Linked DNA regions of Homo sapiens: regions 1, 2 and 3 are each linked to region 4. Evidence: promoter capture Hi-C in human tissues and cell types (Jung and others, 2019). All regions are on one chromosome and are shown on one strand. Each heading gives the region's core, a stretch centred on a gene start or on the middle of the fragment in contact. The rest is flanking DNA. Distances are from core to core; before and after follow the strand shown. Region 1 holds the start of PPP1R14A (protein phosphatase 1 regulatory inhibitor subunit 14A). Region 2 overlaps SAMD4B (sterile alpha motif domain containing 4B). Region 3 holds the start of ZFP36 (ZFP36 ring finger protein). Region 4 holds the start of ECH1 (enoyl-CoA hydratase 1).

What was found. Contacts are between HindIII fragments. The study calls those that stand out against the background at their distance.
Region 1: a contact is called between the fragment with the promoter of PPP1R14A here and the fragment with the promoter of ECH1 in region 4, in 1 of the 25 tissues and cell types used here (bladder).
Region 2: a fragment that was not itself captured here is called in contact with the fragment with the promoter of ECH1 in region 4 in 1 of the 25 tissues and cell types used here (dorsolateral prefrontal cortex).
Region 3: the fragment with the promoter of ZFP36 here is called in contact with the fragment with the promoter of ECH1 in region 4 in 1 of the 25 tissues and cell types used here (dorsolateral prefrontal cortex).

Annotation. Positions count from the first base shown.
Region 1 is chr19:38,250,774-38,257,623 of GRCh38, reverse strand. PPP1R14A (protein phosphatase 1 regulatory inhibitor subunit 14A) reads left to right here and starts at 1,250. Exons shown (of 4, transcript NM_033256.3): 1 at 1,250-1,485; 2 at 4,650-4,730; 3 at 5,286-5,318; 4 at 6,178-6,387. The coding sequence starts at 1,285. The coding sequence ends at 6,306. RefSeq lists a silencer at 1,271-1,458. The HindIII fragment of the contact is 12,856 bases long and covers 1-5,677 here.
Region 2 is chr19:39,366,884-39,372,971 of GRCh38, reverse strand. SAMD4B (sterile alpha motif domain containing 4B) reads right to left here. Exons shown (of 14, transcript NM_001384574.2): 4 at 2,847-3,317. It also overlaps the pseudogene RN7SL566P. Among named protein-coding and RNA genes, the nearest start is that of PAF1, 21 kb to the left of the region's middle. The HindIII fragment of the contact is 4,760 bases long and covers 2,282-6,088 here.
Region 3 is chr19:39,405,051-39,411,992 of GRCh38, reverse strand. ZFP36 (ZFP36 ring finger protein) reads right to left here and starts at 5,146. Exons shown (of 2, transcript NM_003407.5): 1 at 5,065-5,146; 2 at 2,586-4,250. The coding sequence starts at 5,088. The coding sequence ends at 3,294. It overlaps MIR4530 (microRNA 4530), which reads left to right and starts at 2,315; the gene lies at 2,315-2,370. RefSeq lists enhancers at 293-382, 1,965-2,555, 3,456-4,094, 4,095-4,732, 4,783-4,982 and 1 more and silencers at 1,583-1,902, 2,253-2,312, 5,103-5,552. The HindIII fragment of the contact is 20,061 bases long and covers 1-6,942 here.
Region 4 is chr19:38,829,037-38,835,729 of GRCh38, reverse strand. It overlaps ECH1 (enoyl-CoA hydratase 1), which reads left to right and starts at 3,936. Exons shown (of 10, transcript NM_001398.3): 1 at 3,936-4,009; 2 at 4,214-4,421; 3 at 4,564-4,652. The coding sequence starts at 3,958. The region is part of intron 1 of LOC124904712 (a long non-coding RNA gene); the gene reads right to left. RefSeq lists an enhancer at 3,888-4,037. The HindIII fragment of the contact is 9,746 bases long and covers 1-4,041 here.

The sequences.
Region 1 (6,850 bases), core at 1-2,500, 580 kb after region 4:
CGATTCTCCTGCCTCAGCCTTCCGAGTAGCTGGGATTACAGGCATGTGCCACCAGGCCCAGCTAATTTTTGTATTTTTAGTAGAGATGGAGTTTCACCATGTTGGCCAGGCTGGTCTTGAACTCCTGACCTCGTGATCCACCCTCCTTGGCCTCCCAAAGTTCTGGGATTACAGGAGTGAGCCACTGCGCCCAGCCACATTTAAATTTTAGAGTATAATTATTGCTGCTTATAATTAGAAGTGAGAAGACTGTTTTGAAGTAAGGGACTTCCCTGGCCACCCTCGCTAAAATTGCAACCTTACCCTCACTCCATTTCTCCTTCTCTGCTTTATATTTCTCCAAAGCACTTATATGATAATAAACTGTATAATACCGTACTTACTGTGTTTCTCATGTATCCCGGCTACAACTGTCAACTGCGTGGGACTGGTTTTGTCTGTTTTGTTCCCTGCTCTATCCCTGGAGCGTAAAGCAGTGTCTGGTATAGAGTGGATACTTAATAGATATTCGTTGAACCGGGCCAGTGGCGGTGGCTCACGCCTGTAATCCCAGCACTTTGGGAGGCGGAGGCAGGCAGATCACTTGAGGTCAGGAGTTCGAGGCCAGCCTGGCCAACATGGCGAAATCCCGTCTCTACTAAAAATACAAAAATTAGCCGGGTGTTGTGGTGCATCCCTGTAATCCCAGCTACTTCGGAGGCTGAGGCAGGAGAATCGCTTGAACCTGGGAGGCGGACGTTGCGGTGAGCCGAGATCGCGCCATTGTACTCCAGCCTGGGCGACAAAGAGAGACATCGACTCAAAAAAAAAAAAATTCGTTGAACGGAATGAGTGAACAAACAAATGGATGGATGAGTGAATGAATGAACGAAGGAACAAGTGACCGCTCGACCTTCTACAGCGACAGCGGCGCAGGCGCTCCCGCACCAACAGCCCCCCACCCCGCCACCGCCAGAGGGCGCAGACAGGCCGGGTCCCGAGTGTCTGTCCCAGGCCCCCGCCCCACAGGATCCCGGCCCGGGAGCCCCCGATGCAGGGACCCGCCCGGGACTCTGGGTCCCCGCCCATACCTCAACTTCGCACGACTGCGTGCCTCAAGCCGACGCAGCGGCCTACTCTCGCACTGCAGACGGGGAAACTGAGGCCTGAGGCGGCCGGGGTGGGGCAGACCTCCCGGCGAGCCCGAGCCCCCGCCCCCGGCTAGCCCCGCCCTGGCCCGTAAGAAGCACCCGGGGCGCGAGGCGAAGGCGCACAGCGCGGGGCCAGGCTGGGTCCAGCAGCGCGATGGCAGCTCAGCGGCTGGGCAAGCGCGTGCTGAGCAAGCTGCAGTCTCCATCGCGGGCCCGCGGGCCAGGGGGCAGTCCCGGGGGGCTGCAGAAGCGGCACGCGCGCGTCACCGTCAAGTATGACCGGCGGGAGCTGCAGCGGCGGCTGGACGTGGAGAAGTGGATCGACGGGCGCCTGGAGGAGCTGTACCGCGGCATGGTGAGCCCGGGGAGGGCTCGGGGGTGGTCGGGGACAGATAGAGCCCGGGCGCGGAGACCCCACGCCCTTGGGGTCTCGGTGCACACTCGCTGGTGCACGGCCAGCCTGGTCTGCACAAGAGGACGAGCGCCCCAGGGCCGGGCACTCATTGGCCTGGCCATCCGTGCTCTATGGCATTGTGCTTGTGGACACACCGAGAGCAACACACAAAGACTTGGGTCTCCAGAGATGTGTCCAAACGCCTGTGGAGGGCCAGGGGTTTAGCATGAGGAGGGAGGAGGCTAAGTTGAGCTGAAACCGCCACGTCTGGAGAAAGAGTGGGGGAAGGGGGGTGTCATAAAGCCAAACACAGACATGGTGACAGGGGAGATACAGCCACACAGAGACCCACGGCAAAGGAAGCAAAAGCAGACACAGATGTGCACAGTGAAGGAAGCTATAGCCACTCACGGACACAGCCCAGAAGTAACAGCCATGCACAAACCCACAAGGACACAAGCGGGGGCTGGGGGGGGGTCACCTACAGTTCAACATATGCTACAGTCACAGCCACCCGCAGACACAGCGGCATGGGCCACAGCCGTAGGCAGACACAGCACAACCCCACTGGAACACAAAATGACTCAAGTTACGGCCCTTCCTTATCTCCTAAAGAAAAAACTGACCACCTTCAAGCACAAGCGCTGATCCGCAGCCACTCAAAGACATAAAACAACAGAAATTGGCCCAGCACAGTGGCTCACGCATTTTGTGAGGCCGGGGCAGGAGGATTGCTTGACGTCAGGAGTTCAACACCAGCCTGGGCAACATGGGGAAAACCTGTCTCTACCAAAAATCTTAAAACTTAGCCGGGCGTGGTGGCATGCACGCACTTGTAATCTCAGCTCCTCAGGAGGCTGAGGTGGGAGGATTGCTTGAGCCTGAGAGGCCAAGGTCACAGTGAGCCAAGATTGCACCACTGCACTCCAGCCTGGGCAACAGAGCGAGACCGTGTCTCAAAAACAAACAAAACCCAACAGAATTTATAACTACACCCAGACATAAAACTGTGTAAGCACCGGGCACGGTGGCTCACGCCTGTAATCCCAGCACTTTGGGAGGCCGAGGCGGGCGGATCACCTGAGGTCAGGAGTTTGAGACCAGCCTGATCAACATGGAGAAATCCCGTCTCTACTAAAAAATACAAAATTAGCCGGGTGTGGTGGCACATGCCTGTAATCCCAGCTACTCGGGAGGAGAATCGCTTGAACCCGGGAGGAGGAGGTTGCGGTGAGCCGAGATCCCGCCATTGCCCTCCAGCCTGGGCAACAAGAGCGAAACTCCGTCTCAAAAACAAACAAACAAACAAAAAACTGTAAGCTATAGGAACAGGTGGACATACAACTGCAGAACCCACCGCTGCTCACAGGCACACAAGAGCCTAAGCCACAGCTACATGTATTGACACACACAGGTACTTCATCACTTGAGTTTCTGCTTGAAGTCACACTTTCAGTGACTTCTTTTTTCTTTTCCTTAGAGGTGGGGCCTCATTGGCCGAGCACAGTGGCTCACGCCTGTAATCCCAGAACTTTGGGAGGCCAAGGTGGGCAGATCACTTGAGGTCAGGAGTACGAGACTAGCCTGGCCAACATGGTGAAACCCTGTCTCTACTAAAATTACAAAAATTAGCCGGGCATGGTGGCAGGCAGCTGTAATCCCAGCTACTTGGGAGGCTGAGGCAGGAGAATCACTTGAACCCGGGAGGCGGAGGTTGCAGTGAGCCAAGATCGCGCCATTGTACTCCACCCTAGGTGACAGAAGGAGACTTTGTCTCAAAAAAAAGAAAAAAGAAAAAGAGATGGGGCCTCGCTATGTTGCTCAGGCTGATCTTGAACTCCTAGGCTCAAGCAATTCTCTCTTGTCGGCCTCCCAAAATGTCAGGATTACAGGCGTGAGCCACTGCGCCTGGCCTTCTGTGACTTCTGTATGCTACAGTGTACACAGGACCCACGAGTCCTCCTCTTCATGGTGCGACAATGGTGGAAGGCATGGCCCTTCTCCCATGGTGACATGCAGTCCCTCTGTTCTCAGACTCACACCTGGGCCCATACAGGTGAACCAATCTGGTTGCTAGTGGCAGGTGGCATCTATGAGGCCATTCTCAGGTGGTGGGCCCCACAGCTGACTGTGGACACATGCTGATGTGTCACACACCCAAGCCAGAGCCACACACCTCACACCTGCAGGACCACAGTCCACTATACGAAGCCACTGCACGATGCCAGGTCCCTCTGCATCCTCGGCCAGCCCCAGGCCCTTGGCATCAGGCTGTGGCCCTGGCAGAGACTCACACACCTGTGTCCTTGCTGAAGCCCCTTCACCACACATGAACCAGGACCATCCAGCCCTGAAGCCCCAGGCCTGAAGCCGACAGCCGGACTTTGGGTTGGGGAGGAAAGGATTCATAACCCCAAGGCTCTCTTGCTCCCTCGACAGCTGGGGACAGCTGGGTCCTATTCCCAGCAGGGGTACTGAGCCAGCCTGCGCTTGGGCCACTGCCTGTAGAGGCCACACTCAGCGCCCCGCTCTTAGCAGCTGAGTTGAGCCATGACTCATCCCACCCACCCACCTTGAGGGGCCTCGGTGGTCCTCCCTTCGGTCTCACCAGGCTGCATTTTGGCCCTCTGGGGGCTGGCCCAAGCCGTCCCCTCCCTTCCTGTCCCCTCCCTTCCTGTCCCCTGGGGGAAGGGGCCGCCCCAGCTGGCTGCTGGCTGCCAGCCTCTCCTCCCCTGCACCTAGTGCTAAGACTTTTCCTTGAAAGGGCAGAAGCCAGCTCCTCTCCCGAATCCCAGAATCTGACATTCCAGGACTCCACTAGGCCTGTTTTCCTCTGTGGGAACTAGAGCCAAGGCGAGAGACCCGTGCCAGCCCCGAGGCTCCCGGGGCCCATGGGCCCAGGCATCGGGCTGGTACAGGGCCCCGGGGCTCTCTCAGCCCATCTGTCACCCCTCCCCCCCAACACCCAGATGTCCCGTCTTGGCAGTGCTGTCCCGGACTGCCACATTAATGCTCCAGAACCCGCCAGCTGGGCCCTGGGGCCGGTGGGGCTCCTGCAGAGCCCTGGACAAAGGCGAGGGAGGGAGGGAAGGGGATCCTAAGCACCCCTCCCTCCCTGGCCCTAGGAGGCAGACATGCCCGATGAGATCAACATTGATGAATTGTTGGAGTTAGAGAGTGAAGAGGAGAGAAGCCGGAAAATCCAGGTAGGTGGGGGGACGTGTCCCCCAGCCTCCCACTTTGCACCTCCCTAAAAATAATAGCAATAGTTCACGTGTTTACTGAGTGCTCACTAGATGCCGGGCACTGGTGTGATGGCTTTACATGTATTCACTCACTTAACCCTCACAAAACCCTCCGAAGCAGGCGCTAGTGTGAGCTCCATTTTCCCCATGAGGAAAATGAGGCCCAGAGAGGTTGAATCCCTTGCCCAGTGTCACACAGCTCAGAAGGAGCAGAGCTGGGCATCGAACCCAGGCAGTTTGGCAGCCATGTCTTTGCTTATGGCTTATACCTTTTTAGAGGAGGGAAGTGCTGTGTGACCCTCTCGCCCTCTCTGGATCTAGTAACTCACCCCTGCCCTGAGTCGATCCACATGCCCCTTGGGCTCTGTTCCTCTCTTGAAGCTTGGTGGGCAGTCCACCCTGGAGTCTGACTTCCATTTGTCTTGCTGCTGGGGCCTTTTGGGAAAGGGAAGGGGCTGGAGGGGAGTAGGTGTTAGTCATTTACTGTTTTGTTTTGTTCTTGGTTGGGGGTTTTAGGGACTCCTGAAGTCATGTGGGAAACCTGTCGAGGTGAGTTTTCTCTCCCTCATTCTCTCCCTGTTCTGGCCCCAAGTACTCTGATGGGGGAGGGGGAAGAAGCTGGCAGAAGGGTCTCTGGGGAACACCACCCGGCCCCACCACCCCCGGCCCCAACCTGCCCTCCGCAGCTCTTTCTGGTCTCCAGGGGTGTCTTTTGTCCTCCTACTTGTCTCTCTCCCTCTCTCCCCCATCTGCTGAGGGGGCTCCATTCTGTCCTCCCCCATCTGCCCTGTTTTTGCCTCTCCTGTGCCTGTCCTTTGGCCACCAGCCTTCGGGCTCAGTCTCCCTCTGTCCTCCCCTGTCACTGCCTCCGCCACCCCGGGCTCCCTTCCCCACCTCTGGGGGCCCTCCATCCTCCCAGGCCCTGAAGCTGAGCGGCCCAACCCCTCCCACTTCCTTCCCTGCTTTAAAAGGGAAAACTATTCATGTTTCTCCAACTAGCTCTAGGGACAAACGTCATTGCATTTCTGTTCGCCCTGGATCTATCTCTGGGGACCTGTCTCCACATGTCTCTGTTTCTTTCTCTGTCCTTATGTCTCTCTCTGTCTCTATCTCTACATGTCTCTCTGTTTCTGTGTCTGTTTCTCCCCCTCCCCCACTCCGTATCTGTCTCCTTGGATCTCTATCTCTCTTCCTAGCTCTTTCTCTCCATCCCTCCCATCGCCCTTTCCCCATCTCTGTCTTTCTCCCGGCTCACTTTTCTCTCTATGTCTATAGCCTCCGCCCCTAACTCCCCCCACCCCACAATCAGAGAACAGGAGGAGGCGCCCAGGTCAGGGACTGGGCTGGACAGGGGCAGAGGGTGCCCCCGCACTGTTCCCATGTTCTCAGCTCCCCCACCCTGTCTCAGGACTTCATCCAGGAGCTGCTGGCAAAGCTTCAAGGCCTCCACAGGCAGCCCGGCCTCCGCCAGCCAAGCCCCTCCCACGACGGCAGCCTCAGCCCCCTCCAGGACCGGGCCCGGACTGCTCACCCCTGACCCTCTTGCACTCTCCCTGCCCCCCGGACGCCGCCCAGCTTGCTTGTGTATAAGTTGTATTTAATGGTTCTGTAACAATAACACTGTGTGGCTGTTTTTCCTCCCCCCGGGTTACCATGGGCTTCCCCGAGCTCCCCCCACAACCTCCCTCTCTCCTCCTGTGGCCTCTGCTCATGTCCCTGTCCCAGCACTGCAGCTGGGCCTGCCAGATGGAGAATCACTCCTCCCGGGCCAGAAAGCATGAGAACGGGCCCTGCTGAGCCCACGCCCTTGGGATTTATATCCTAGACCTTGCCTTCCCTTGAACTCCCCACCCCACCCCCATCCCCAGTCCCAGCAAGCAGGGCCCCTATATGCAGGCTCCTGCAGGAATCTGGGTCAAGGGGCATGCTCATGACCAAAGGTGACCGATATTGACTCAGTACAGGTGATCACACAGCAAACAAATCATTCAGCCACTCCATGAAATCTGCGCTGTGCTTATAATGGCCCTTGGTACTGAGGCTGCAAAGATGAGAGGAAGATGGTCTCTGGCATCAAGGTG
Region 2 (6,088 bases), core at 3,412-5,911, 540 kb before region 4:
TTAATACCAGTTTCTGCCCTACCCCAGAGTGTCCAGGGTCCTCTTCCCAGGAGTTCTTCAGCCTCTAGACTCCCTCAGCCCTGGCTTCTGTCCCCACTCAGCACTCTTGGGGAACATGGCACACTCTGGGCCCTGGGGGACTGGGGAATCCTCAAGACAGGCCTTTTTGCCTGTTTTGGTGTCTCTGGCCTCCTTCTTTCTCCCTTCTCAGCCAAGAAGTAGGCAGGAGAGGCTGAGAGGCAGGAAATTACCCTGACTGGAATGATCGTGCAGTTCCTGAGGAGCCCTGCTTGGCTCCGCACTGGGGTGGAGGCTGGCCACAGCATGAGAATGACAAAAACAAGAATGCCGGCCAGAGATCCAGGGCCTTGCACTCTCCAAGAAATCCTGATCTGTTCTTGGCAGCACCCCAAACCCAAGCTGCCTGCCCTCAAAGGCCAATCCTTGCTCCCCACTCAAAAATATTTTAATGATTTCCTGTTTCCTGCAACTGCCTGGAATCCAAAAGCTTCTCCTGTCCTTCAACGCCCCCCAGAATGTAGCCTTCACACACTGAGGTCTGAGGGTAAAGACAGGCCTGAGTTCAAATCCTGACTCTGACTCTGTCGCCTCTGTGTGATCTTGGGCAAGTCACTTCATTCACCTCTCTGCCTCCATTTCTGCATGAAGTCCTTAGCAGAGGGATAGGCACACGGTAAGCACAAGTCTCTGCTACTGTTATTACTCATTCGAATCCACCCCAGCCAGATCTGTCTGTATACTGTCCCCTCTAATTATCCACCCCGTGCTTATTTCATGCTGTGCCTTCTACTTGGAATGCCCAATTCCTTTTCCTCTTTTGGTCCAAACCCCTATCAACATTGTTCAATCTTCATCCTTTAATGGCTGCTGGGGTACCCATGATGGGGAGCACAAAAGGTATGAAGACAAAGAAATTTATAGGCACCCTGCCTGGGTGACCCCTCCCCTTGGTGAGGGATGAGCATCTCCAGGAGAGGTACTTTTTGGTGGAGGTAGTGTAGCATAGTAGTTCAGAGTATGAAGTCTATAGTCAGAATGCCTGGCTTTAAACCTTGAGTTTATATGTATAAAGTTCTTAGAATAGCTCCTAGTAAAGACTAAGCACTCGATGTGTGTTTTTGTTTTTTTTTTTTTGAGATGGGGTCTCGCTCTGTTGCCCTGGCTGGAATGCAATGGCAAGATCTCGGCTCACTGCCACCTCCACCTCCTGGGTTCAAGCGACCTTCCTGCCTCAGCCCCCCGAGTAACTGGAATTATAGGCATGCACCACCATACCCAGCTAATTTTTATATTTTTAGTAGAGATGAGGTTTCACCATGTTGGTCAGGCTGGTCTCGAACTCCTGACCTCAGGTGATCTGCCTGCCTCGGCCTCCCAAAGTGCTGGGATTACAGGCGTGAGCCACCATGCCCGGACTAGCACTCAATATTTTTTGCCTAGAATGATCATTATTAATACATCCTCCCATCCTGGAACTGTGATGCTCCATGACTGGAAAATGAGGTCCAAGACACCTCAGGTTGCTAAGTTTCCTGAAACTGCCCTTCTATCCCTCTATCTTCCCAGGTTCTCACCAGCAACTGGGAGGGAGGCAGATGGACCAGAATAGCCACACTAACTGGGGGAAAAACAGGCTCAAGGAATAACTGATGAGCACCAGGTACCAGACAGCGGGGCATTAGGGACCCGAGGTTACCCCCACCCACTGACACATGTGACATTTCACTGTCACTCTCTCTTGTCTTGCTTTAAACCAGTGCCTGCTGAAGGTGACTAGCTACTCTGAGGTTTACATCATGAACCCTCTCCCTCACCCTGGGTCAGGTCATGCTGCCTTACCATGGCTTGGAAAATCCACCCTCCCTTATCCTGTGCATTTCAAAAAGTCACTGGGATACCAACAACTTCTGCTCACTCCCGCCTGCAGGGCTTTTACTAAGAGAGCTCTTTCAAACCTGCTTAGTTGGCAGGACAGTGTAGTGGTCAGAGGCAGGCTCTGCCATCAGACTGGTTGGGTCTGTTCCACCACTTGTTCTACGTGTGACTTTGAACACATCACTTCACCTCTGAGTCCCGATGTCCTCATCTGTTGAATAGGGCTAATGATACGGTTGTGATGCGGACTGAGATCATACCTGAAAAGTGTCTATAAAAGAGTACCTAGCATAGTCAATGCTGAAAAATGCTACCTACTATTACAAATACCTTGCAGCATGAGTTTTGTCTTATACAGACAGTGTTCTCAGAAACAAAGCTGTAAAGTGAGGCCAGATACATAAAATCCATAATGTTGTCTGAACTGGAAGGGATCTCAGATGATGGTATGCACACCTCCATCAAGCGTCATAGCCTGATGCCCTTAGAGGCCAGGTATATATCAGAAATGCCCAAAGGGGGGTTGGTGGGAGCAGAGGCAGACTAGGGCACTTGTGCAGGGTCTAAAGGGCATGCTCAACATTAAGCTCTATATTATTGCTGCCACTAGGAAAACAGATCTTGTTGAGTTGCTAGATCTTTTGACTTCTCAAGAAAGGCTGGAAATCTCATTTTTAGGGAAAAATTCTTGATTCTTTGTACCACTCACATTTATTTAAAAACCCAACACAACAAAATAAAACCAAACCAAAGTATGGGTTCAATAAGACATGTCTGTAGGTCAGATTCAGCTCTGGGAAAGCCAGTTCACAGCCTCTGCATTGCCTCATAAAGTTGAGGCCTACAGCTTATGTGACTTGTCTAATGCCACAGAGCGAGAGAGCTCTCACTGAGCCTAGTCCAACCTTTTTCAAGTAGGCATGGCCTTCTGGGACACCCCCGCCACTTACCTGTGTTTGCATTGCTCCCAATACTGTTGATGGCTGGCGGCACTGAGCTGGATGGGTGGAAGGGCACGTGTCCATTTTCCCGGGGTGGCTTGTCCTGCCAGCCTGGCCCTGCCTCCCCAGGGCCTAGCTCTGCAGGGCCCCCCCACTCATCTGAGCCTTGACGTGAATGGTAGGAGGGCTCTGGCCGGGAGCGGAAGCCACTAGCCAACCGCTCTTCCAGGTGGCTCAGCCAGAGGGCCAGTGCGTTGCGGTCCTCCAGTGTGGTGGCTGGGTGGATGAGGGCATAGGAAAGCAGCTGGCGACTCTCCTCGATGAAAGCATTGCTCTCGATTGAGTAGGCCAGCACTTTCTGCAGTAGCCTCATGTACTCCGACTTGGCCTCTGTGTTGCCTGGCTGAAGCAGGGGAAGGTGGGACAGCAGGAGGGACACCACCTTCTCTTTGGACTCCTGCTGCCACTGGCTGACGATGGCTACAGAAGGGATAAGAAGAAATATCAGGAGAGCCAGGGTGGGGTACTCCTATTCACCTGAGAGCACTGCCTATGGCCTATTCCCTCAGCTCCAATCTTCTTTTCATAACGATTTTCTTTTCATAACTCCCAAACTTATCCCTCATATAGGTGAGATCAAACACACTGACCCTGCCTCTGGAGTAATTTTTGTCTTATTTTTTTTAAGAGATGGGGTCTCACTATGTTGCCCAGGCTGCAGTGCAGTGGCTATTCACAAGTGCAATCCCACTATTGATCAGCACGGGAGTTTTGACCTGCTCCATTTCCAAACTGGGCCAGTTCACCCCTCCTTAGGCAACCTGGTGGTCCCCCACTCCTAGGAGGTCACCATACTGGGGCCACACTTAGTGCAGACACCCAATCAGCATAGCACACTATAGCCCAGAACTCCTGGACTCAGGCAATCCTCTTGCCTCAGCCTCCCAAGTAGCTGGTACTACAGTCATGTGCCCACCACAGCTGGTGTAGAGTAATTTTTCTTTGTTCTATCACTCCTGTTCTCAGAAACCTGCAGTGCCTCCCAATCAGCCAAACTTGCTACTCTGGAATCTGAACAACTCCTGTCCCCAGGCCTGCTCTCATGCTTTATCTCCATGACTCCTTCCTCCATTCTTCATGGCCTCTATGCCATTTCCCCTGCCAAAAAGCAGTCTCCTTCCTGAATGGAGAAGGCAGTGGTATATGGTAGTTAAAAGCTTGGGCTCTGGAATCAGATGGTCTAGACACCCCAGCTTACTAGCTAGATCTTGGTAAGCTACCTTGAACCTCATGGAGCACTAAATTATCTGCGAAATTTTGGAGATAATTACAGTACCCAATTCACAGTGTTGCTTTGAGATTCAATGAGCTAGCAAAGAACACAAAGTGGTTTGGCGACATAATAAATGCTTGCTATTGTTTTTTAACTGGTCTCTCTGCTTCTAGATTCTCCCCTTCCAATCGATCCCATACATCCAGATGCATTTATCTTCCTAAATCACAACAGGATGTCATGTTCCTGACCAGGAGTTTATAATGGCAACCAGCAAGCACCAACAGACTCAAGTCCAAGAACTCCTAGCCTAACATCACCTTCATTTCCAGGGCACCCTCCATCTCCCATTCCTCCAGATAAAGACTCAGCTCAGGATATCTCCCCATCTTCCTTGGGGTTCTCTCCACAGTATGTATTTATCCAAGCTCCACACCTTGGCTGAGATTCAAGGTTTTGGCCCGCAACAACCTCCTTCCTCCTATACAAATTCTCTTTTGTAGATGGCCTAACTTACTACCTTCCTCCAGGAAGCATTCCCTGGCTGTTCCATGTCATGGTCATCTTGACCTCTCCTTTCTATCCCACTGTGTGAGGACCTGAGTCTACCCTGTGGAGATAAGCCAGGTTTCCCTTTTCTTTTTTTTTGAGGCGGAGTCTCGCTCTGTCGCCCAGGCTGGAGTGCAGTGGCGCGATCTTGGCTCACTGCAAGCTCCACCTTCTGAGTTCATGCCATTCTACTGCCTCAGCCTCCCGAGTAGCTGGGACTACAGGCGCCCACCACCACGCCCAGCTTATTTTTTGTATTTTTAGTAGAGACAGGGTTTCACCGCATTAGCCAAGATGGTCTCGATCTCCTGACCTCGTGATCCACCCGCCTCAGCCTCCCAAAGTGCTGGGATTACAGGCGTGAGCCACTGCGCCCGGCCTCAGGTTTCCCCTTTCAACCCACAAGGGAGGTCCCTAAGAATATGGCCCCAGGCTGGCCACATCAAAGAAGGCTTGGGTAGGAACTGTTACAAGTCTGACTCTCCCCCTCAAAGACCTTATTAGCACTGGGCGTGGTGGCTCACGCCTGTAATCCCAGCACTCTGGGAGGCTGAGGCAGGTGGATCACCTGAGGTCAGGAGCTGGAGACCAGCCTGGCCGACATGGTGAAAGCCTGTCTCTACTAAAAATACAAAAATTAACCGGGCATGGTGGTGGATGCCTGTAATTCCAGCTACTTGGGAGGCTGAGGCAGGAGAATCACTTGAACTCGGGAGGTGGAGGTTGCAGTGAGCCGAGATCGCGCCACTGCACTCCAGCCTGGGGGCAAAGTGAGACTCCGTCTCAAAAAAAAAAAAAAAAAAAAGAAAAAGAAAAAAAAAACCTCATTAGCACTTCTGTGACTAGCTAAACAGGGTGGAAGATGGAGATAATGCTGACAGGACAAGGAGAGGGACAAAAAATACCAATACTTGGGAAAAGAGACAAAGATTTAGGTCTGAGGCCAACTACGCTCTCACCCTTGGGCAACTGAGCTCACATCTGTAGCCAAGGTGATGACTTACAAATATCTCACAAAGGAGTTCTGAGAGATGTGCTAATGGTGAGGTCTTGGAAATGGGCAAAGGAGCTGGCTCTAACCAGACAGAGCTAGGACCCCAAAGGAGTGGGTGATGAAAAGGAATAGGCAGAGATGTGGCATATGTCCCTTTACCACCACTTACTGGCCATGTGACTCTGGGCAAGTGTGATCACTTCACTGAGCTCTATTTTCTCTATCTGTAAAGTGGAGCCCAGAATCATTCCTACCTGGCATGGCTGCTATGAATTATGTGAGGCCACAGCATAGAGTAAGTCCTCAGTAAACACTAGCTGCTTTTACTAGTATTGTGGTTATTATATCTCACTGTGTCTCCCTCCTTTCAGATACACACAGAGATTCTAAAGGCACAAGCCAAATCTCTGGGCCCAGGAAACCAAGAGGCTAGGA
Region 3 (6,942 bases), core at 3,897-6,396, 580 kb before region 4:
CCCAGCCACCAGGTGGGGGTATCGTCTCTTATTAGATGCTCTGGGCATGGAATTGTGTGCAAACAGTTTGACTTCTGTAGAGATGTGGGTCCTCGGCAAACTGTATATGACTCTGCCTCCTCTGTATTTCTCTGTCTTTTTAATGCCTCCTTTACAGATGAACATAGCTATCTGTCTTGGAGTTTTCGACCTCTGTTGAAAAGGAAAACTATGTTTTTGAGTCGACTTGTTTTTTCAATAAATATTGAACATTCACTATGCCTGGCTTCCTTTAGCTGTGTGTAATACAGCAGTGAACAAGTAGTCCCTGCCCCTGAGGACGCGACATTCTAGTGGGGAGGCAGATTGCTGTCAACATAAGAATTAAGTACATTTTAATGTTAGGTGGTGATGATAAATGTCATGGAAAAAGTCGAGCAAGGTAGGGAGGATGGGGTAGTTGGAGGTGGGGTGTGGATTGCAACAGCAGTGGTCAGGGAGGATCTCACAGAGAAGGCAACTTTTGAGCAGAGACATGAAGGAGGGGAGTGAGCCATGGGGACACCAGGGGAGTGTTCAGGCAGAGGGAACAGCTAGTGCAAAGCTCCTATGGATGAAGCAGACCAGACTTGGTAGAGCAGCTAGGAGGCCAGTGTGGCTGGAGCAGAGTGGCCAAGGGGGAGGGTAAGCGATGGGTGCCAGATTGTGTGGGCTGTGGGGAGGACTTCGGACTTTGACTTTTATGTGACCTGACTCAGGTCTCATAACAGGCTTCCTTTGGTTGTCTCGTGGGGGAGTGGAGAAAGGAGAGACTGAAGGCAGGGGCTAGAGCAGAGACTGGGGCTGGGGCTGCTATGAAGATGCAAATGGCAGACGATGTTGGCTAGGACCAGGGTGGGGGTCATGGTGGGGGCAGGTGGATAGTGGATCTATTTTGCAGGTGGATCAGACAGGATTGCTGTTGGACTGGGGTGTGGATTTGAGAACAAGGTGTCAAGGGATACTCCTGGGTGTCTGGCTTAAGCCCTGGTAGATGGTGAGAAGTGCCGTTTTCTTATATGAGGGATTTTTTGGGGAAGGGGCAGAGAATCAGATCTGGCTAAAGGAAGGACCAGAGATGTTGTTCTTTCAGTCTCCAAGACTGTTTCTGCAAATGTCTCTTCACTGCTTGCTCTTGGTCTCTGCCCCTCTGCTGCCTTTGCATCTCAGGGGTTCTGACTCCCTCTCGCCTGATCCTCTTCTACTTATTAGGGCCTGAGCCCTTTCCCACAAGGGAAGCAGTTTCCTGGAAGAGGAGACCAAATGTCAGTGAGCAAGGGGAGTGGGCCAAGGAGGCCTGAGAGCAGGAGGGAGGCTTGAGGAGGGTAGAGAGAAGGGAGAGGAGGGAAAGGGGCTTCAGAGGGAGAGAGAAGAGGAGAAGGAGTAAGGCTAGGGGGAGGAGGGGAAGAGGACAATGGGGAGTGGGAGGGCAAGGAAAGGGTGGAGAGGGAAAGAAGGACGGAAAAAGGGAGAGAAGGGAGACGGGAAGGAGGAGAAAGGGGGTAAGAGACGGCAGGATGGGGAGGCTGGAAGTGGGAGAGGAGTAATGAGGGAGGGGACAAATTGGAGGGGGAGAGAAGAACAGAAGGCAAAGGGTGTAGGGCGGGGCAGAAGGGTGCAGAGGAGGAAGTGAAAAAGAGGAGGAAGGGTGAGGGTAGGGAAAGGAGAGAAGAGGGAAGTGAGAGGGAGGAGGGAGGAGTGCGGGGCAAGGAGAAAAAAGAGGGGTCGCAGGGGGCGAAGGCTGGGCGGCAGGGCCGAGCCGCAGGCGCTGACGCAGGGCGGCTTCCGGGCGCGGGGCCCCGGGGTTGGTCCCGACGACGCTGGCCTTGTATGGTCTGAAGACGCGGCTCCCCCGGGGCCCCTCCTAGACGCGCGGCCCCTACCCACACGCCCTGGCCTCGCGGGGCCGACCCTGGTCGGTGTGCGAAGCCTCGGACTTCCAAGGTTCGGAAATGCCAAGACCCGGTAATTCCCGGGCTCCAGGGTCCCGGGTGGCCAGAAATCTGCAACTCCGAGCCACCAGGGGTCTAGAGTCTAAAGCGCTAGGGGATGCAACCTGTGACTCCCAAATGTTGAGATCCTAGCCTCTTGAGACCCTAAACCCGCTTCCCCAACATCCAGAAGGTGTCGAAGCCCCCCCGGAACCTCTAGTCCCGAAACGGGTTCCGCTACCCCAGGCTGCCCCGCCCCGCGCCCGCCCCCGCTCGCTCTGGGCGCGCGCCCCAGCACATTCCGTCCTCCCCACCCGGCCCCTCCCGCCTCCCGCGGCCCCGTGGGGACGGAAACATCCCGTCCCCGACCGCACCCGCCCGAAGCTGGGTCAAGGAGCCCAGCAGGACGGGAGCGCGGCGCCCCCGACGCCCGGGAACTGGCTCCCCCGGTTCCCATCTGGTGACCTCACCTGGTCCCACCCTTTCAGGTGAACGGCCAGGCCCGGTGACGTCACTTCCTGCCAGGTAAGCGCCGCGGGGCTCGGAGAGGAAGAGTTAACTGCACCCAGCTTCCAAAAAGTCACCCCCTCCCTCTCCATTCCTGTCTCTAGACCGCGAAGAAGCCAGGATCCCAGCTTACACTCAGATTGTTTATTTAAAAATGCCCAAAACACAAAAATAGACTTTTAAGGTAATAATATATATTACTAAATATATTATAGTCTACTTATAATAATTATATCGTCGTTTTCAATATTACAAAAAAAGGAAGAAAAATACAAGGGAAGCAGACGACCCAATATATATAAATACTATAAAATCATATTAGAATAAATAAAGTCGTCATAAATAAAGGGCCCATTGATTTATGGGTGGGGTTTGGCAACGGCTTTGGCTACTTGCTTTTGGAGGGTAATTTGAGCACCAGGATTCCCCCTCAGGAGAGGTTCCAGTTACCAGGAGACACTGGAACCTCAGGTCTATAAAAACTGGAGGGGCAGTGAAGGCCTATTATTCACAGCACATAAGATTCTAGGAGACAGATTTGGGCAGGGAAGAGGTGGGGGAGAGGGTTCATTGCCTCCCTTAAATATGCTACAATTTTTTTTCCCCCAAGAACCTCGGAAGACACTCCATCCCCCACCATCATGAATACTGAGCTTGCACACTTGGGGACCTGCCCCAGCGTGAGGTCAGGGGAGTGGGTTAATGCATTCTGGAAAAGGGGATTACTTGATTACTGTCCCCCAAGTCCCCACAGCCCTGGGGTCCATGCAGAGACCACAGTGCAAGAGACGTGGCTCCCCGCTGAGATCCAGCTGATCTGACCGGGCAGTCACTTTGTCACTCAGAAACAGAGATGCGATTGAAGATGGGGAGTCGCCGGGGGGCTGCCACGGGCTGGGGTGGTGCAAAAACTCCCGCCTCGAAGACGGGAGAGTCAGAGCCCCCCAGGCTGCTGCCGCTGCTGGCATATTCATCAGGGTCGGATCCCAGGGACTGTACAGAGGGGGTCCGAACCAGGCCACCCAAGGGCCCCCAGACGCTGATAGGAGTGGCCCTTCGGCAGGAGGGGCAACAGACTGGGGTGGGGTCTCTTCGAGCCAGGGGGGTGCCAGGGGCAGCAGAGAAGGCAGAGGGTGACAGTGGAAGGTCCCCAGGTGGTGGTGGGGAGCTGGAGGGCGAGAAGGAGCTGGAGGACAGGGAAGGGCCGGCCAGGCCTGGTGGTGGTGGTGAGGTCCGGCGGCCAGAGGGCAGGCCGGAGAAGCTGATGCTCTGGCGAAGCACAGGAGGGTGGCCCGGGGCCGCCAGGTCTTCGCTAGGGTTGTGGATGAAGTGGCAGCGAGAGCCGTAGGGGCAGCGGCCCTGGAGGTAGAACTTGTGACAGAGTTCCGTCTTGTATTTGGGGTGGCGATTGGCCTGGCGCAGCTCGCCCAGGCCATGGGCAAACTGGCACTTGGCCCCGTAGCGGCAGCGCCCACTCTCTGAGAAGGTCCGACATAGCTCAGTCTTGTAGCGCGAGGGGGTGGTGGAGGTTGCAGTGGGCGAAGTGGGTGAGGGTGACAGCTCAGGGCCCAGGCGGGGAGCCAGCGGTGCGAAGCCAGGGGGTGGGGGCACCCAGCCACAGCTGCGGCCCTCCACTAGGCTGGTGGAGCGGCCAGGCAGGCGGGAGGTGACCCCAGACGGGCTGGAGTCGGAGGGGCTCAGGCTCCAGGGTCCCGAGGAGCCCCAGCCTGGGCTGGACTCAGTCCCTCCATGGTCGGATGGCACGGGCACGTCAGGGCTCAGCGACAGGAGGCTCTGCGGAAATGGGTCGGTTAAGGCACCTGAAAATGCAGGGCGACGCCCCACCCCAGCTGCAGGGAACTAGAGCTTGCCAGGCCGGTTTGTGGGCTCCCCGCCTGAGCCCCACCCGCCCGCAGAAACCCCTGGGTTCCGGATGCCAGGAACCCAGAGTTGGAGGTTCTGAGTTTACCCACCACCGAGGCCTTATCCCGAGGGACCCAGGAATCCCGGCTTCCCCGGCTGGACCAAGAGGGGGACCCCGAAGTCAGGGCGCACCACTGTTTCCCAATTTTGGGTCTCTTGTCCTCCCCGGATATGACCCACGCGTCGGGATCTCCAGTTTCACAACTGGAGAAACCGGGCAAAGTTGACCTGGAAGTCCGGATTGCTTCGGTTTTAGGGTTCTCTGTCTCTACGGTCAGGGACTGGAGAGACAGAAGTCGGATCCCCCCACCCTGAGACTTCAGCCCCAGAGACGCCTCCGCGCAAAACCACGCCCTCAGCAACGACTAGGGGTGAGCCAGGTATGGGGGCCACTTCCGCCTCCAGGCAGCCTCGGTCTGAGAAAAGTTCTCCGACTTTCCACTTGCATGGGCCGCCCCACCCATGTTTGAGCGAAGAGCCGGGTGTCGCGGGTTCCATTTTCACCTCCAAATCACCAAGCTGGTCTGAGCGGGAGGCAGGGGCCCCAGGCTGGAGGGCGCGGCGCTAGGGAGCCCCAGTTGGAGAAGGGAGGCAAGCGTCCCGGGCTGGAGTTTGCGGCGCTAGAGAGGTGGGGACTCGGACTCAGGCATGCAGGTACCGGGGATGCCGTGCGGCGGGGACTCACCTCGTAGATGGCAGTCAGATCCATGGTGTAACGGTTGGCCATGAGGGGTGTCGGCCGAGAGTGGGAGCGCTGAAGTCAGGCTGAGGCTGGCACCGAGAGCCGGCTACTTATAGGAAACTGCAAGCACGGGGCGGGGCCGGGGCCGGGGCCGGGGGCGGGGCAGGAGGGGCGCTTCCCGGACGCGCGCCCCCGGCGCAGCCTGGCTGGCCCTGGACTGGTTCCCTTCCGCCCGGCCCTGGGCCAGGACGCGCCTGAGCTTGGCCGGTGGACAGCCGTGACCGAGCGGGGAATGCGTGGGGAAGGGGTGGGGGTGCGGATGGGGGGACGCCTGCCCAGTTTTCAAAGCTGGAGACTGAGGCTTGTAGAAGGAAACTGGGGCGGAGGTGGGGGCAGGGCCCCAGGGGCAATTGACAAGAGCAGAAGCCCGATGGGGGTGCGCGTGCGACACAGACGGATGGGGGCGGGGAGAGACGCAGAGGGGTACAGACAGGCAGACAGGCAGAGAGAAAAACATCGAGAGAGACACACACACCAAGAGACATACAGAGAGAGATAGACAGGGTGAGGAAGGGAGGGAAGACGGGGAGACAGAGACAGTCCCAGAGACAGATTCAGAGGGAGAAGAGGGTTGGGAGGATCACAAAAAGAAACAGAAAGGGGCTGAGCGCAGTGGCTCACACCTGTGATCCCAGCACTTTTTGTGTTTTTCTTTCCTTTTTCTTCTTCTTTTTTTTTTTTTTTGAAAGACGGGGTTTCCCTATGTTGCCCAGGCTAATCTCCAGCTCCGGGGCTCAAGCGATCCTCCCACCTCCGCCTCCCAAAGAGCTGGAATTACAGGTGTGAGCCACCAAGCCCGGCCAATCCCAGTACTTTCAGAGGATGAGGCAGGTGGATTACCTGAGATCAGGAGTTCAAGATCAGCCTGGGCAACAGTGAGATCCCATGTCTACAAAAAATACTATTTAAAAAAATTAAAAAGAAAAAGAAACTGGACAAAAAGGAGAAAGACTGTGAGAAATAAGCACTTACGGAAAGAAATCTGCAGAGCAAAGTGCCAAGAAAGAGCCAGCAGGCCTTGGAGGGGAATTCTCTGAGAACTGCCTGCCTTGTGTGGTCTCACTCCTAAACAGCCCAGACAGATAAGGAGACCTGGACTGCTCTCCCTCTCCCCACTTGCTGGGGTTGGGTGGGTGAGTGAGTGGGTTGGGTGGGGTCCAGGATACCTGGCAAGGCTGAAAAGGGGCCTCCTTTCCCAATTCACAGGGCGGCTCTAGCCCCCTCACCCTCGGGCGGATGATCTCTTCTAGGCTGAGTTAAGGAGAACTCACCTGGGCTGAGTTCTAAGTACTTTACGCACATTAATCCTAATGCCAGGTGGTATGCCCATTTAAGGCAGGAGGAAACCAAAGTGAAGTTACTCTCCTGCCCGGCTCACACCTGTAGTCCTAGCACTTTGGGCGCCCAAGGCAGGCGGATCACTAGAGCTCGGAGTCTGAGACTAGCCTGGGCAACACGGCGAATCCCCATTTCTACAAAAATGCAAAAATTAGCTGAGTGTGGTGGCGCACACCCTGTGGTCCCGCTACTCGGGGGCGGGGAGGGAGCAGGCTGGGGTGGGAGAGTCGCTTGAACCCAGGAGGCAGAGGTTGCAATGAGCCGAGATCAGGCGACTGCACTCCAGCCTGGGCCACAGAGCGAGACTCCCTCTCAGGGGGAAAAATAAAGTTACTCTCCTAGTTCGAGCTAGCAAATGGCACAGGCCTCATACTAGGGTCTGAAATTATGTCGAGGTTTGCCCTCTGAGAAAACTCAAGATTGGCAAGGTGGAGGTCTTTCACTATAACTGATGGTTGCATTGATTGAAAAAAGCTTTCAAAA
Region 4 (6,693 bases), core at 2,687-5,186:
GCAACAGGGTGTCAAAAAAACCCAAAACCTTTGTGTTCTGTATCATTTCAGAGTGACTTGTCTTTACCCTTGCAGTATCATTGTGTGGATGTGTCATGATTTAACCTGGTCCCAAAGGGTAGTTTCCAGGTCTATTTTTGCTATTGCAAACAGCGCTGTAACACGTATCTACACAAGTATCTTGGCCAGCTTCCCTGATACTGATCAGGAGATAAATTCCTGCCAGTGGAATTGCTGGGTTAAAGGATATATATAGCTGGATGTAGTGGCCCATGCCTGTAATCCCAGCACTTTGGGAAGCCAAGGCAGGCAGATCACTTAAGGCCGGGAGTTTTGAGACCTGGGCAACATGGCAAAACCCTGTCTACAAAAAATAAGAAAGTGGGCCGGGCATGGTGGCTCACGCCTGTAATCCCAGCACTTTGGGAGGCCGAGGTGAGCGGAACACTTACGGTCAGGAGTTCGAGACCAGCCTGGCCAACATGGTGAAACCCTGTCTCTACTAAAAAAATAAAAATTAGCCGGGCATGGTGGCACGTTCCTGTAGTCACAGCTACTCAGGAGGCTGAGGCAGGAGAATCGCTGGAACCCAGGAGGCAGAGGTTGCAGTGAGCCGAGATTGTGCCATTGCACTCCAGCCTGAGTGACGAGAGTGAAACTCCGTCTCGAGAAAAAAATATATAGAAAAATGATGTGGGCATGGTGGCACACACTGTGCCTATAGTCCCAGCTACTCATGGGGGCTGAAGCAGGAGGATCACTTGAGCTGTGAGCTGTGATGGCACCACTATACTCCATCCTGGGCGAAAGGGCGAGACCATGTCTCAAAACTTAAAGGATCTATATAATTGCATCATACGGTAGATAGCTTCCCACTTGCAGATGCAAATCTGTGAAGATGCCTTGCGGTGGCGGGTACCACCCGGAAGGATCCTGGTTTAAGGATTTTGACTCCTACTGGAGGGAAGAGGTGACCTGCAGAGGAGCAGGTCACAAACCTTGAAGTTTATGCATGTGTGCTTGAGAATAGCCCACTCTGGGGAATTTACTGTGAATAAAATTTTCTTTTTTGAGATGGAGTCTTGCTCTGTCACCCAGGCTGGAGTGCAATGGCATAATCTTGGCTCACTGCAACCTCTGCCTCCTGGTTCAAGCAATTCTCCTGCCTCAGCCTCCCAAGTAGCTGGGATTACAGGCATGTGCCACCATGCCTGGCTGATTTTTGTATTTTTAGTAGAGATGGGGTTTCACCATATTGGCTAGGCTGGTCTCGAACTCCTGAGATCCACTGGCCTCGGCCTCCCAAAGTAGCTATGATACAGGCATGAGCCACTGCGCCCGGCCTTACATTTTTAACATTTAATGACATCACAAAAGCATCATTTGGCAGATGAACAAGTTTTGCTTCACTATGGGAAGTTTCAAACAATCTTTAGACAAGGAAAAACTACAGTCATCTTGCAGCCATAAATAAAATCAACTAGGGTTTATTGTTTTTAAGCCAGTCAAGGTGATAAAAAGTGAATTTTACCAGTTTGTCTCCTAGCATCCAATTTCATTTCCTGTTACCAGTTTGAGTCTCCTTCCAGAGATATTACATACATACACCATATTCTGTGCAGGTCCAGCTACACTCTTTTTTTTGAGACATTGTCTCACTCTGTCACCCAGGCTGAAGTGCTGGAGTGCAGTGGCATGAGGTCAGCTCACTGCAAACTCTGCCTCCTGGGTTGAAGCAATTCTCCTGCCTCAGCCTCCCAAGTAGCTGGGATTACAGGCACCTGCCACCACGCCCCGCTAATTTTTTTTTTTTTTTAGACAGAGTCTTGCTCTGTGGCCCAGGCTGGAGTGCAGTGGCGTGATCTCACATCAGTGCAAGCTCCGCCTCCTGGGTTCACGCCATTCTCCTGCCTCAGCCTCCCGAATAGCTGGGACTACAGGCGCCCGCCACCACGCCCGGCTAATTTTTGGTATTTTTAGTAGAGATGGGGTTTCACCGTGTTAGCCAGGATGGTCTCGATCTTCTCACCTTGTGATCCACCCGCCTTGGCCTCCCAAAGTGCTGGGATTAGAGGCATGAGCCAACACGCCTGGCTAATTTTTATATTTTTAATAGAGATTGGGTTTCACCATGTTGGCCATGCTGGTCTCAAACTCCTGACCTGAGGTGATCTGCCTGCCTGGGCCTCCTAAAGTGCTGGGATTACAGACCTGAGCCACCGCACCCAGCCCAGCTATACTTTCTTACACCAAAGGAACAAAGGATCATACTAAATGTTCTATTACATCTTCACATTTTTTTCTCACACATTTTTATTTTTGCATAGAGGTTTCAGAGTTTTCTATGGTATAAACAGTCTACTGTTGATGGGTAGTTAATGGTTCTGTCTTTCAAAAGAGCCTGCTTTTCTAGTCTGTGAAAACACACAGGAGACAGGTTCATTAAGGAAAGATACTTCCTTCAATCTCACTGGCCCAGAGACATCTGTTCACCGCCTTGCTCAATGTCTCCCCAAAAAGCATACTTAAGCAGTTTTACAGTACTTTTTTTTTTTATTTTTTTGAGATGGAGTTTCGCTCTGTCCCCAGGCTGGAGTGCAGTGGCGCCATCTCGGCTCCCTGCGAGCTCCGCCTCCGGGGTTCACGCCATTCTCCAGCCTCAGCCTCCCCAGTAGCTGGGGCTACAGACGCCCGCCACCATGCCCGCTAAGTTTTTGTATTTTTTTAGTAGGGACGGGGTTTCACTGTGTTAGCTAGGTCAGGAGGTCGATCTCCTGACCTCGTGATCTGCCCGCCACGGCCTCCCAAAGTGCTGGGATTACAGGCGTGAGCCACCGCGCCCGGCCAGCAGTTTTACAGTACTTTTTATGCCTTTTGGTAGCTGGCTTTTCCCAAGGGAATTTCGGTTTTTTTGTTTTGTTTGTTTTTTTTAAGAACATGAACTTTTTTTTCTTCTTTTTTTTTTTTTTGAGATCTTGCTCTGTCGCCCAGGCTGGGGTACAGTGGTGCCATCTCTGCTCATTGCAACCTCCGCCTCCTGGGCTCAAGCCATTCTCTTCCCGCTAGGATTACAGGTGCCGGACACCGCACCCGGCTAATTTTTGTATTTTTAGTAGAGACGGGGTTTCGCCATGTTGACCAGGCTGCTGTTGAACTCCTGACCTCAGGTGATCCGCCTGCCTCGGCCTCCCAAAGTGCTTGTATTACAGGCGTGAGCCACTGCGCCAGGCTAAGAACATGAACTCTGGTGCCAGGTAATCCTGCTTTAGCCCTTCTGAAGCCCACCGACCTTGAACCTAGTGTCTTCCCGTGCCTGGGCCAGTTTCCTCTGCATATAGTAGGAAATAGTACGACCTCCTGGTGGGAGTTCATATTATACAGTCAGCGCTTAATGTTGGCCCGTCTGTACTCATTCCTTTACCTGAGTAAACTCACAGTACTGCAAGTTTTCTTTTATTTTTAGTTAACATGATATATACATGCATGATTACAAGCTCTGCTGCAATTATGTCCTTGGACATTTCAGCTGTCGCCTATTATTCCACCATTATGAAACAGCTGTGTGATGAACTTTAGCGGGAGCTGTTTGCTTTTCTGTTTTTTTTTTTGTTTGTTTGTTTTGTTTTTTTTAAGACGGAGTGTCGCTCGGTCGCCAGGCTGGAGAGCAATGGCGCGATCTCGGCTCACTGCAAACTCCGCCTCCCAGGTTCACGCCATTGCAGGAGCTATTTTCTTTGGCCAGGTTCCCACTGGGGCAAAGGGTCCATTTCTGAGCCTGGCTCTATGTAAGGCAACCGGAAATCGACTGCCCTTAGTAAAGATGGCGGAAAGAACGGCGTCATTGCCTGTCAGGTTGCGGCATCGGTGCCCTCGCTCAACATGGCGGCCTTCTGTGCCCGCCCCCTCCGCTAACGGGCACGTTACTCCGTCCGAACGCAGTAGACGAAGGCGGCGGCGATGGCGGCGGGGATAGTGGCTTCTCGCAGACTCCGCGACCTACTGACCCGGCGTGAGTCACCTCTTGCCTTATGGGGGTGCGTCGCGCTGTCGTGCTGTTATAGCAGATGTAGGACGGGGAGGGCTATCCGGGGTCACGAAGGGCCCGAGTCCCCTAAATTCAGGGGTGCGTGTGCTCCCTTTTGAAGGACTCCCTAATTCGATAGGCCTGTGTCTTGCAGTCTGGGGTCATCAAAGGCTGTTCCTTTCTCCCCAGGACTGACAGGCTCCAACTACCCGGGACTCAGTATTAGCCTTCGCCTCACTGGCTCCTCTGCACAAGAGGAGGCTTCCGGAGTAGCCCTCGGTGAAGCCCCAGACCACAGCTATGAGTCCCTTCGTGTGACGTCTGCGCAGAAACATGTTCTGCATGTCCAGCTCAACCGGCCCAACAAGAGGAATGCCATGAACAAGGTCTTCTGGAGGTCTGACCTGCAGATCCTGGAGGCCTGCCTGCGGGGGGAGGCGGGGCTGCGGGACTGGGTGAAAGTGGAACGTTGTGGGAAGATGGACATGAGGGCAGGGTATTCCCGCCCCATTTGTAACCCTTCACTCGTTGCTTCACAGAGAGATGGTAGAGTGCTTCAACAAGATTTCGAGAGACGCTGACTGTCGGGCGGTGGTGATCTCTGGTGCAGGAAAAATGTTCACTGCAGGTACCAGACGCTCTTCACACACCCTGCCAGCCTTCCTAGCTCCTGGCAATAGACAGTGGAGCAGTGCTTCTGAATTAGGGTTTTAAGCAGCTTCTGACTTACACACTTTTTTTTTTTTTTTTTGAGACGGGGTCTTGCTCTGTTGCCACGCTGGAGTGCAGTAGCGCAATCTCAGCTCACTGCAACCTCCACCTCCCGGGTTCAAGCAATTCTTCTGTCTGGGACTACAGGCGTGGGCCACCACACCCAGCTAATTTTTGTATTTTTAGTAGAGACGGGGTTTCACCATATTGGCCAGGATGGTCTCCATCTCCTGACGTTATGATCTGCCTGCCTCAGCCTCCCAAAGTGCTGGGATTATAGGCCTGAACCATTGCTCCTGGCCCCTAACTCACACTTTTATCTGTGTGTTTTTTTTTTTTTTTTTGGAGACAATATCTTTCTCTGTCACCCAGGCTGGAGTACAGTTGCCTAATCATAAATCACTGTAACCTCAAATACCTGAGGTCAAGCGATTCTCCCACCTCAGCCTGCCAAAATGCTGGGATTACAGGCAGGTGCCACCATGGCCAGCCCTATCATTTTTTTAAAAAAAGGCCTACTTTAAAACATTCAAATATAAGTATTAGTCTGACAGAACACGATGGGATCATAGGCTCTGAAGTCTAGGTTTCCATCCTGGATCTGTGGCCATGAACAACATGCTTAACCTCTCAGCCTATAGCTGTGTCAGCATATAATATAATAACATGCTTTCGTGCAACTATTCAACTCACTAATTGATTTCCAGTTACAGGTCAGTTGGATCTTTGGATTGACCCACTGACCTTTTCTTCAGATTGGAGAATTTCCACTGGTCACAGTTACTAACTGTTTAGTCATCTCTATCCTTCTGTAAAGCCCATCCAGTGATTTATTTTGTTTTATTTTGTTTCAGACGGAGTTTTGCTTTTGTTGCAATGGTGCAATCTCAACTCACTGCAACCTCTGCTTCCTGGGTTCAAGTGATTCTCCTGCCACAGCCACCCAAGTAGCTGGGGTTACAAGTGCCCGCCACCACGCCCGGCTAATTTTTTGTGTTTCTAGTAGAGACGGAGTTTTACCATGTTGGCCAGGCTGGTCTTAAACTCCTGACCTCAGGTCATCCACCCACCTAGGGCCTCCCAAAGTGCTAGGATGATAGGCGTGAGCCACCGTGCCCAGCTACTACCCACTGATTTTAAATTTCAGATATTGTAGTTTTCTTTCTTTTTTTTTTTTTTCTGAGACAGAGTCGCTCTGTCACCCAGGCTGGAGTGCAGTGGTGCGATCTCGGCTCGCTGCAAGCTCTGCCTCCCGGGTTCAGGCCATTCTTCTGCCTCAGCCTCCCGAGTACTGGGACCACCAGTGCCTGCCACCACACCCAGCTAAGTTTTTGTGTTTTTAGTAGAAACGGGGTTTCACCGTGTTAGCCAGGATGGTCTCGATCTCCTGACCTCGTGATCTGCCCGCCTCGGCCTCCAAAAGTGCTGAGATTACAGGCGTGAGCTACCACGCCCAGCCCAGATATTGTAGTTTTCAATTCTCCAATTTCCATTTGGTTCATATTTTATTTTATTTTATTTATTCATTTATTTTGAGACAGAGTCTCGCTTTGTCACCCAGGCTGGAGTATAGTGATGCAATTTTGGCTCATTGCAACATCTGCCTCCTGGGTTGAAGCAATTCTCCTGCCTCAGCCTCCTGCATAGCTGGGATTACAGATGCCCGCCACCAGGCCTAGCTAATTTTTTTTTTTTTTTTTTTTTTTTTTGGAGAAGGAGTCTCACTCTGTTGACCAGGCTGGAGTACAGTGGTGCAGTCTGGGCTCACTGCAACCTCCACCTCCCAGATTCAAGCCATTCTCCTGCCTGAGCCTCCTGAGTACTTGTGATTACAGGCACCCGGCACCACGCCTGGCTAATTTTTATATTTTTAGTAGAGACGGGGTCTCACCATTTTGGCCAGGCGGGTCTTGAACTCCTGGCCTCCAGTGATCGGCCCCCCTCGGCCTCCCAAAGTG